Regions from separate parts of the Homo sapiens genome. Here regions 2 and 3 are each linked to region 1. Evidence: promoter capture Hi-C in 16 types of primary human blood cells and fetal thymus (Javierre and others, 2016). All regions are on one chromosome and are shown on one strand. Each heading gives the region's core, a stretch centred on a gene start or on the middle of the fragment in contact. The rest is flanking DNA. Distances are from core to core; before and after follow the strand shown. Region 1 holds the start of SLC10A3 (solute carrier family 10 member 3). Region 2 overlaps ARHGAP4 (Rho GTPase activating protein 4). Region 3 holds the start of AVPR2 (arginine vasopressin receptor 2).

The links. Contacts are between HindIII fragments. The CHiCAGO score rates a contact against its expected background, and 5 or more counts as called.
Region 2: a contact is called between a fragment that was not itself captured here and the fragment with the promoter of SLC10A3 in region 1, in 2 of 17 cell types (monocytes and non-activated CD4 T cells). The highest score is 5.2, in monocytes.
Region 3: a contact is called between the fragment with the promoter of AVPR2 here and the fragment with the promoter of SLC10A3 in region 1, in 2 of 17 cell types (total CD8 T cells and monocytes). The highest score is 5.6, in total CD8 T cells.

Annotation. Positions count from the first base shown.
Region 1 is chrX:154,488,895-154,492,350 of GRCh38, forward strand. SLC10A3 (solute carrier family 10 member 3) reads right to left here and starts at 1,735. Exons shown (of 2, transcript NM_019848.5): 1 at 1,413-1,735; 2 at 1-188. The coding sequence starts at 46. RefSeq lists a silencer at 1,458-1,967. The HindIII fragment of the contact is 4,164 bases long and covers 1-2,759 here.
Region 2 is chrX:153,922,019-153,925,482 of GRCh38, forward strand. All of the region lies in intron 1 of ARHGAP4 (Rho GTPase activating protein 4), which reads right to left. Among named protein-coding and RNA genes, the nearest start is that of ARHGAP4, 2.5 kb to the right of the region's middle. RefSeq lists enhancers at 1,406-1,906, 2,413-2,542. The HindIII fragment of the contact is 3,334 bases long and covers 1-2,924 here.
Region 3 is chrX:153,902,205-153,905,922 of GRCh38, forward strand. AVPR2 (arginine vasopressin receptor 2) reads left to right here and starts at 2,469. Exons shown (of 4, transcript NM_000054.7): 1 at 2,469-2,567; 2 at 2,770-2,966; 3 at 3,328-3,718. The coding sequence starts at 2,942. The HindIII fragment of the contact is 5,945 bases long and covers 1-3,718 here.

The DNA.
Region 1 (3,456 bases), core at 485-2,984:
GACCAGGCCACTGCTGAGAGCTGCCCTTGTCCTGCATTAACACCATGGCTCTTCCTGGAGGACGGATGGCGTGCCCAGGCCCTCTGCGGCTTAGGAGAACATCCCCACTGGTGCTGTTGGGTTGTCCTGAGAAGGGTTCATGGGTGGGTCCCAGTCCTGTGCTGTCTTCCTTGATGGCAGGGCTGTCCCTGAGGAGGTAAGGGACACAGAGAGGCAGCTGGTGAGGGTCACTTACCCTGGAGGCCTTGGTCCAGCCATGTGTCTTACCTCTGAAGAGGGAGGCAGTCAAGAACCCAGGAGCATGGGGATCTGGAAGCCCACTGCTAAGAGTAAAACTCAGCAGGGACCCTTGCCCCACACTCAGGAATGGAGAGGCAATGCCTAGTGATGGCCCTTGAGTGCCATTCAGCTGTGGCTCCCTGGCCCACTCTACCTGCCCCTACAGTGACTCGATGAAGGTCCTGCTGGGAAGCAGGTCCTCCCTCCCCAGGGAAGTTGCCAGAAGGGGCGGCAGGAGTGGATCAGACAGAGCCACATGTCTACTGGGGGGGTTTCTCCTCCTTTTGTCAGAGCTCCCACTGGGCTGAGACTTTGACCTCCCAGAGCCACTGCGTTACATCTGAGAGGCTGTGCTCAGAGTGCAGGGCTCCTTCCCATGCCCACATGCGCCCCTACCAGAGCCTCAAACTCAGTGGAATTATGAGTGTTTCTAGCGGCCAGCAACACCCCCTTCCACTTCTCAATCTGGGCAGCGACCACCGTAGTGTCACATCACCTGCTAGAACTGGGGCAACCAGGATGGAGACACAACAGCTTTACATCACCCCTGTCAGTTGCCTCATGCACTGTTGTGTCCCAGTCCTAGAAGAGGACTGCCTCTATAGATCCTATCCGTCTTTGGCATTGGCCTCCCGTCATCTGAGACTGGGGTGAGGCAGAAGTAGGGAGCAGAGGTTAGGTTAAGCCAAAGGCTCATCCCGGCGAGCCTCCCCTATCCCTAGCTTAGGATGACATGGCCTCTGCTGGCTTGAAGTTCGGGTCACTTACCCTGGAGGCCTTGGTCCAGCCATGTGTCTTACCTCTGAAGAGGGAGGCAGGAAAACCAGTGGGGTGGGAGAGGCAAAGTACAGGAGCTAAGATGAAGGCACCAGGACTGAAGCCACCGGGGTGATACAAACCAGCTCAGAAGGGAAAGGCTAGGGGCCATCCACCCCATGCCCCATCCCTCCAGTAGGGCTGGCGGCTCTGAGTCACTCCAAGAGGGGTTTGGCCCAGATCCCACACCATTTCTGCTTGAGGGGCCGACAGAGTTTGAGCAGATGCACCCACAAGGCAGGGGAGGGAGTCCCGGCCCTTCCAAAACGGCCAAGTGTTCGGGGTAACTGGCAGTGCTAACAGGGGCTCCTCCCTACCTGGGAGTCCGGAAGTTGTCGGACGGGTGGCTAGCAGAGCTCGGGCGCGAACCTGGGAGGGAGGAAAGGAAGGGCACGCCGCCGTCCCACAGCCGGCGACCCGCTCGGGCCGTCTCGGAGTCTGGGGGGGCCCCTTACGCCATTCCTGGGCCCCGCGGCCCCGCCAGGCCTCGCAAACGCGCGGCGGCGGCGGCGGCCCTTCCCTGCCAGGCCCGGCCGGGCGCCCGAGTGGGCGATCGCGGAGCAGGGTCGGGGCCAGAGGCCGCCTCCCTTCCGGAGGCTCTCACCTGCCACAGCCACCGCGCAGCTTAGCTGCAGCGTCTGCCTGGCCGGCAGTCGCCCGCGAGCTCGGCCTGTCAGGGCCCCGCCCCACCGAAGCCCCTCCCTTCCCCGCCCCGCGCGTCAGGGCCCCGCCCCCCCCTCAGCGTCCAGCTCAACTCCGGCTGCTCGCTGGGCTCCGACCGGTTGTGACGTCTCTGGGAGTGACGCGCCGGCGCGGGCGCGGTGCGGGTGAGCTGGTCGGCGCTTGGCGCTGCCTGGACCAATCGCTTGGCAGCGCATCTGAAGCTGTTGTGATCGCTGGGGCGACCCGCTCTGGGAGGGAGCCCCAGGCATTCCCGATTACGCTGCGACCTCTAAAGGCAATGGGACAGAGGGTTAGACGTTAGCAGGGCTGGGTGCCCGGGGTTAGGGTTTTGGCCACGTTGCCGCTCAAGGTGCCCAGCCCTGGGGCCCCAGGGTTGAGTTTGACCGACCTGGACGCCAGGCTCTGTGCGGAGTTCCTCCTTTCGTTCAAGTATTGACCGAGCGCCTATTTCTATTTTATGTATTTATTTTCTGAGACTGAGTCTTGCTCTGTCACCCAGCCCGGAGTGCAGTGGCGCGATCTCGGCTCACTGCAACCTCCGCCTCCCTGCAACCTCCGCCTCCCGGGTTCAATCCATTCTCCTCTCTAAGCCTCCCGCGTAGCTAAGATTACAGGCGTCCGCCCCCGCGCCCGGCTAATTTTTGTATTTTTAGTAGAGACGGGGTTTCACCATGTTGGCCAGGTAGGTCTCGAACTCCTGACCTCGTGAGCCACCCGCCTCGGCCTCGCAAAGTTCTGGGATTACAGGCGTGAGCCACTGCGCCCGGCGTAGGCCAGTTTCTATACTGTGGAACATTAAGTGGACTTGTCTGCTTTTCCAAACTTTGGCGCCACTAGCAAGGTGCAGAGGCTTTGTGGTAAAGGAAGAGAAAGAAGGCAGAAAGTTGGGGAAAAATATGATGGGAATGTGTAGAAAGAAGGTCGGAAGGCAGTACAGAAGACAGTACAGAGTTGGGGGGGGGGGGATCATATGTTCCCAAAGCTTATTGGTGCAACTGGAATCAATCTGCACACTTCAACCTCTTGTCAAGACTGTGATGGAGTCGGAGGTATTTGCCCCGGGTAGGTGCACAAGACGCATGGTTGCAGATGTGGAAACAGAACAGAACAAAACCACCCACGTCTCTAATGTTTCAAATGAATGATATACATTTGTTTTTATTACTTATTTATTTATTTTTGAGACAGGGTCTCGCTCTGTCGCCTAGGCTGGAGTGCAGTGGCACAAGCTCGGCTGACTGCAACCTCCGCCTCCCGGATTCAAGCGATTCTCCTGCCTCAGCCTCCTGAGTAGCTGGGATTACAGGCGTGCGCCACTACCACCCGGCTAATTTTTATATTTTTTAGTAGAGACAGGGTTTGCCATGTTGGCCAGGCTGGTCTCAAATTCGTGACCTCAAACGATCCACCCGCCTCAGCCTCCCTAAGTGCTGGGATTACAGGTGTGAGCCACCGTGCCCAGCCAAATAATATACTTTTAATAAATTTATTGACATTTAAATTTATTTTAAAACTTTATTTATTTATTTAGAGACAGGGTCTCGCTCTGTTACCCAGGCTGGAATGCAGTAGTGCCATCATAATCACTGCAGCCTCGAACCCCTGGGCTCAAGCGATCTTCCCACCTCAGTATCCCAAGTAGCTGGGACTACAGGAGCATGCCACCATGCCCAGCTT
Region 2 (3,464 bases), core at 8-2,507, 570 kb before region 1:
GACCTCTGCGCTGAGGCCAACAGATGGCCAGAGCCACCCGGTTGAGGGGGAAGGGGAAGGGTGTCCCAGAGAGAGGGGAGAGCCGCCCCAGCGCCAGCCAGGCACCTTTCAGTTTGGCTTCCTGTCTCTCCCTCGTTCCTGGAAAGCCTCTGAATGGTTTCCCCTGCGACTTCCTTTCCCGCCGGTACCCAGGCTCCGGGAGGTGGCAGCCTCCCTTGCAAACACACGGATACACAACACACAGATCACAGTGCTGCTCAGGGCAAGCCTGCAGCGATCTCGCAGTCTCAGTGGCTGGGGAAGCCTGCCCTCAGGCCCCAGGGGAAAGGACAGTCCACAGTGAGGGCTGGGAGCCAGGGAGAGCTGATCCGGCCTTGTAAGTGAAAGAATGGGGCAGGGAGCTAGCCCCCGTCTTCTGACCCCACTTCCCACTCCCAATCACCCCCCGCCCCACCTGTGCATTCCCCCACCCTGCAGAGAGAGTCACACCCAGGGCCCCATACTGCCGGCCTTTTGACACCCTATCACTGGCTTGATTTGGCAACGCTGCTTCCCCCACACAGGCCTGAAGCAAAGAAGTGCCTGTCCAGCAAGTTTAAGCAACCTGCGGAAGACACTTTTGCCATCTCCTGAGTGCCCGTCCCGAGTAAATAAGATGCTAGCTCAGCTTCTGGCCAGCAGGCTGCCCACCTACTCATCTCCATCCACATCCCCAGGGAGGGACATGAATTGATGTCTTCATTCAGCAGAATGTTGATTATGCACCCATTCTGTGGCAGGCACGTTTTAAATACAAAGGCAAAGAGGTTTGACCAAGTGTCTGCCCTCTTGGAGCTGGGATTGGAATGGGGCACGAACACATATCAGAATGCCCAGGAGTGATGGGTGCGGAGAAGATGAACCCACAAAGCAAGATCAGAGCCAGGGGTGGGTGGGGACAGGGAGGACCTCTTTTTAAAGGAGGGTGGTCAAGAACAAGCCGCATCGTTGGAGCAGAAGGCTGGAGCTGGCTGTACGTGGGCAGTAGGGGGAGTCCGAGAGACCGGTAGGGACAGATGGCACAGAGCCCGGGGTCTGGGCAGAGCTCCCAGCTGGACTCCGAGTGAGAGAGGAGCCACAGTAGTGGGGTGATGTGGTCCAGCTTCGTTTTCAGGGCCCCCTCACACTGCCAGGTGGAGCCCAGGTGGCAGCTACTGTGCTAGTCCAGGCAAAAGACGGCAGGATTCAGACCAGCAGCAGCGAGGGAGGACTCCGCTGAGAAGAGCTCAATCCCATTGGATTTCTGTCCCGCCAGTGACTTCCCAGGGGCTGTTGCATGGGGACCCTGTGGGTTCCGCCTGCCCAGCATCCCTACCTCCTCCCCTGATCTCCTATTGGAGAATGTCCCCTTCCTAGTCTCAGCCCCCTTGACTCCAGGTGCCCCAGCCCTGGCTGCATGCGTCACCCATCCCTCTGTCCCTCCACTCCCTGCCCCCACCAGACTAGCCAGGTGAGGGACCCAGGAGCCTGACCCTTCCAATTGAATTACTGAACAGGAGAGCTCTTCCCACCGGCAGATCAAGCTGGGTAAGTGGAAGCCTGGGGCACGGGACCTCCCGACAGAGCAGGGCAGAGCCCACGATGCCAAGTGAGACAGATGGAGAGTGTCTTCATCCTATCCGAGGCTGGCCTCCTGTGGTTAACTCGTCAGCTCCAAGGCCAGGTGGGGTGGGCGCTAATGCCATTTGAAATCAGGAGAGTCCTCACTGAATCAGTTTAACGTTTTGTTTTGATTTTTTGTTTTGAGACGGAGGATGTTGCCCAGGCTGGAGTACAGTGGTGCGATCTCGGCTCACTGCAACCTCCGCCTCCCGGGTTCAAGCGATTCTCCCGCCTCAGCCTCCCGAGTAGCTGGGACTACAGGGGCGCACCACCACACCCAGCTAATTTTTGTATTTTTAGTAGAGACAGGGTTTCATCATGTTGGCCAGACTGGGTCTTGAACTCCTGACCTCAGGTGATCCGCCCGCCTCGGCCTCCCAAAGTGCTGGGATTACAGACGTGAGCCACCACGCCTGGCCCAGTTTAACATTTTTTGATAAAAGTAAATTTCATTTCATTCCAAGAAAGGTGTTAGACAACTGCTCGCCTCACTGGCCCTCTGGAGCCTGCCCTGCCCTGCTTCCCCCAGAGGAATACAATCCCTGGGGACTTATGACAACTGAACAGTGCAGAAGGAACCAGCAGAGGGAACCGCTGCCTTTCTTCATCACTGCCGGCAGCAAAAGCTGACTGGAAGCCATGTCCTAGTCCAGATCCGGGCATGCACACCGGCTGGTGTTGAGCAGGCAACTTGTGAATTGCAAGTCGATTGCATTGGTGGCTTTCCTGGCAGAGCTTTCGGATCTCAGTTCAGACAAACTCGTCAGCACACCCTGTCCTGACCTCCCCCTAAACTAGGGCTGGCCCTCTTCCGACCCCTTCTTGGCACCGTGCACTTTCCTTCCCTTTGTAGTGCTTATTATCATAATGCAAAGTCTATGTCTCCCCCACTAGACCCGTGAGCCATGTGAGGGCGGGGTGGCCACTGACGCCATTTGAAATCAGGGGAGTCCTCATTGAATCATTGCTTTTACTCTGGGTAAAAAGCCAGGGCTGGAGGGGCTGGAGTCGGGGTTCTCTCTGGTACAGCAGTATACTCCCAGGGCCTGGGACAGCACAGATGTATAGGAAACATCTGGCAAAAGGAGAGCTGGAATCCATGTCTGCCTGAATTACAGAGCTGGGCCCCGGGCCCCACCAGCACTTCCTGTGAGCAAGGCATTTGGTCTCACTTCTGCTGACAAGCAAAACAGAAGAAAAGATGGTCTCCAAAACCACCGCTATGCTGACCTTTGAGAATTTAGGGTGTCAAGACAGTGACCCCACTTTGTAGAATGGTAGGAAGCTTTTCCAGGGTGTGGGATGCAGACCCAGAGCAAGTGAGGAACCCTTAGACAGTCGTGCTCGAAACCCCAACTTTTCAGTGTGAAATCACTGACCCATATTTGCTGACTGAAGTTTTCCAAGTCTTTCAGCTTCATGGCATTTTGGGGAAGCAGGATGGAGATCATTACCTCCATCTGAGCAAGATGATGGCGAGGCTTGGAAAGCTGGCTCACCCTGTGTAGTCACCTCAAGCTGGCTCTGGACACAGGCTGCCTTTTCCAAAGGAGGACTGGAGCATACTTTGGTATAAATTGCTTGCACTGAATAATGATGTTAGAACCTACATCTCTGGGTTCAAAGGCACTTCAAGGGTCATTGCATTCTACGTCCTAGAAGTTGCAGTGCTGTATGACCACGGGCAAGTCACTGCACCTCTCTGAGCTTGTTTCCGTAATTGGTAAAATGGAGTGATTGAGAGTGATATGGACGAGCTGCTGGCACTGAGCTGCTGCCTCTTTCCTTTGCAAGAGTTACCATGCCCTGAATAAGATGGGCAC
Region 3 (3,718 bases), core at 1,219-3,718, 590 kb before region 1:
GTTTGGTGAATGGAAGGTTCTGATCATGGGGAACCGGTAGATAGAGAGGGACAAACAGTGTCCCCCCAATCTGCCTCCTGTCCTCTTCTGCCCAGACACTAGGCTGGAAGATCAGGAGCCACACCTTGGCACTCACAGAGCCCTTTCTGCAAGTCTTAGAGGGACCAGTGGGAGGTGTGCACACAGGGGCTGCGCTGGCAGGAGTGGGGGCCTGGCACACCCCCAGGTAGATGCCCTGCCCGTTAACGCCCAAGGGCAGGGGCTTGAGTGACTCATGTGGGCCTAGCGTGAATCAGCACAGTCTGCCCTTCTTCCCATGGGAGCTGCTGCCCAGCCCCATCTTTCTTGGCCCCCGAGGGGTGGCTGCCCAGGGCCTCTCTCCTGGCACAGTTCCATGTAGTGCCTGCCCATGTGGCTCCCAGTTCCTCCCCGGGGTCCTGGCTGAGCAGAATGGCACTGGATCCTGATCTGGCTTCTTGCATCCCAGAGGAGACCGCCATGCGGGCCCTTCCTCCAGATTCTTCCCTAGTTTAACAACAGGAAGCGAGGAGTCCAGGGGGGCAGAGATTGCCACGGGCCTGGCCACATTGCTAGGGGAGGTCCCAACCTGCTGCTGAGATCCGGCACTGCACAGCCTCGTTCAGGCAGAGAAACTGATAAGGAGATGGTTGTCTGCTCACCCCAAAAGGTTAGCATGGATTCCTCGCCCTAGCCGGCTTTAGACGGAGGGAACAAAGGCTTTCCCAAGGCCCTGCCAGTCCCCACCCCTGCCCATCTTACCACCGTAGTCTCCCTCAATCATCAAGTCCCATTGCACAGAAGGGGAAGCTGAGGTGCCAAGAGCTGGCGTGGCCTGTTCAAGGTCACACTACTGGGCAGGGGCCAAGCAGGGGCTGGAGCCTTGCTTTCCTATTCCCCAGCCAGGGTCCCCAAATTCTCTGCCAGTTGAGGGAAGCCATCTCCTATTCCACTGATCTGGGTGGCATTAGGAAGGCCTTTTCTATGCTCCTAGATTAGTGACAGCATGCGGTTATTGGGGACAGCATGAGGATGTGCATGCGCTGAGGAGATGCAGCTGAAGCGTCAGGCCTGGGGTGCCAGCACTCTGCAGCCTGCCCCCAAGGGGCTCTGCAAAAACATGGCAAAGATGCGGGGTGTGATGTGCACCTGTGTGTGCTGCGGGTGTGTGCGTGTGTGGTGTTGGCTGTGCGTATGTGGTGTGTATGGCTGTGTGGTGGGTACATGTGTGGGTGTGTGGCGTATGGGAGTGTGTGATGTGTGCATGTGTGTGGTGTGTAATATATGTGTGCATGGTGTGGTGTGTGTGTGGTGTGGCGTATGGGTGTGTGGTGGGTGCATGTGTGTGTGGCGTGTGGCTGTGTGCATGTATGTATGTGGTGTGGTGTGTGCGCTGTCTCTGGAAAATGCCCACCCTGTGTTCCCACCACCCTAACAGGGCCGGGAGGGGCCAGGGTGCTGCCAGGCTCTCTGGGCAGGAAGAGGAGGCCTTGGCCGCGGGCCGGACTTGGGCCTGGTCCGTGAGGCTGTTTTGGTCTCTGGCTTCACAGGCAACAGAGAAGACAGACAAACAGGAAGAAAGCAGCTGCCTTGGGCTGGGCTGGGCTGGGCTGGCCTCGGCTGAGCCAAGCCAGGCCTGGGTGCGGGGGGAGTGGAAAGAGAACTACTGGGATGGGGGCTGGAGGGGGTGTGGGGACAGGGGAAGGAGAGAGGTGTTGGGGGAGGGAGGAGGAGGGCTCAGGTACAGGGAAGGTGCGTCCATACTCATGGTATGTTCAAGAACATGAGCGAGCGTCTCTGTGTTGTGTGTTTGTGGCTGTGTGGCTGTATCATGTGAGGTTGTGTGTGGTGGGAGGGAGCCCGTGAGCACACGGAGGTCCCCAGCCCCTCTTCCTAGGACAGGTAGTTGCAGGTGGGGCAGGAGGAAGAGGGTGGGGGTGTCCCTGGATCTCACAGGGGTTCGTGAAGCCTGGCTTGGCCCCTGCCCCACTCCTCCCTTTCCTGTCCCTCGTCTCCGGCCAACTGGGCCCTAACTGGGGAGGAGGAGGGGCCTGCGTGGGCCTGGGAGGGGCCCAGCGAAAGTGTTTTCACCCCTTCCTTGCCTGGGCCCAGCGAGGAGCAGGAGGACCCCAACTTGGGAAGGGGGCGTGAAGCTCCCATGAAAAAGCAGCGCAGTCCTGGGCCAGACCCACCGCTCTCTGGCCTCAGTTTCCCCACTTATAAAATGGGAATGCTGAACTAAGTGACCTCCCAGAGCACTGCCAACCCAGACAATCCAACCAGGGGGGCGTGGTAGGGTGAGGGTGGGCGTGGAGGCTATGGCAGTGGGAGGAGGGAGTCCTGGGCCGGGACCAGGGAGGCCCTGGGGAAAGGAAGGGAAACAGGAGGCCAGGGGAGGCCTGGGGGAAAGGGGGAGGGGGAGGAAGTCCCCTCCTGGCCAGGTCACTCCCAGAGGCTGGGCTGGGCCAGGGCAGGGCAGCCGATGGAGAGCAGATCTGAGCACCCAGCCACCTTCACGCCACCGCCCAGCTGCCCAGGAGCCCAGCCAGGTAAGGGGCTGCGCCTGCCTGCCCCCCTGCCCAGTCCCCAGCCCTCGGATGGTGGCCTCTCTCGGCCTCGGTTGGGGCAGGGGAGTTCTGCGTGTCTGTCTGGGGTGCCCACTCCCAAACCCGGGACTCATGGGCTGCCTGGGGGATCCTGGGTTCTGTGCATCCGTCTGTCTGACCATCCCTCTCAATCTTCCCTGCCCAGGACTGGCCATACTGCCACCGACACGTGCACACACGCCAACAGGCATCTGCCATGCTGGCATCTCTATAAGGGCTCCAGTCCAGAGACCCTGGGCCATTGAACTTGCTCCTCAGGCAGAGGCTGAGTCCGCACATCACCTCCAGGCCCTCAGAACACCTGCCCCAGCCCCACCATGCTCATGGCGTCCACCACTTCCGGTAAGGCTTGCCCCTCCATGAGTCCGGTGGGCAGAGTGGGTTTGACGATTCAGGGAAGCCCCTCTTTCTAAAGACCTCCTTCACCCTCACCTCTGGGTGTGTCTCTCCAGGCTGCCAATGAGTGGGGAGGGGAGCACAGCCCCACTTCCCCGCCAGGGCTGGGGCTGGGGCTGGGGCTGGGGCTGCCCTTCCTTCTGGACTGCATGAGCCTGGGGTGTGTATCCCTCATAACATGGCTTTCCTGGAGTCCCCTCTGCTAGGAGCCAGGAAGTGGGTGTCCGGATGGGGGCACGGGAGGCAGGCCTGAGTCCCCCTGCACAGCACCCTCTCTAACCAGGCCCTCTTCCCGACTCCTTCCCAGCTGTGCCTGGGCATCCCTCTCTGCCCAGCCTGCCCAGCAACAGCAGCCAGGAGAGGCCACTGGACACCCGGGACCCGCTGCTAGCCCGGGCGGAGCTGGCGCTGCTCTCCATAGTCTTTGTGGCTGTGGCCCTGAGCAATGGCCTGGTGCTGGCGGCCCTAGCTCGGCGGGGCCGGCGGGGCCACTGGGCACCCATACACGTCTTCATTGGCCACTTGTGCCTGGCCGACCTGGCCGTGGCTCTGTTCCAAGTGCTGCCCCAGCTGGCCTGGAAGGCCACCGACCGCTTCCGTGGGCCAGATGCCCTGTGTCGGGCCGTGAAGTATCTGCAGATGGTGGGCATGTATGCCTCCTCCTACATGATCCTGGCCATGACGCTGGACCGCCACCG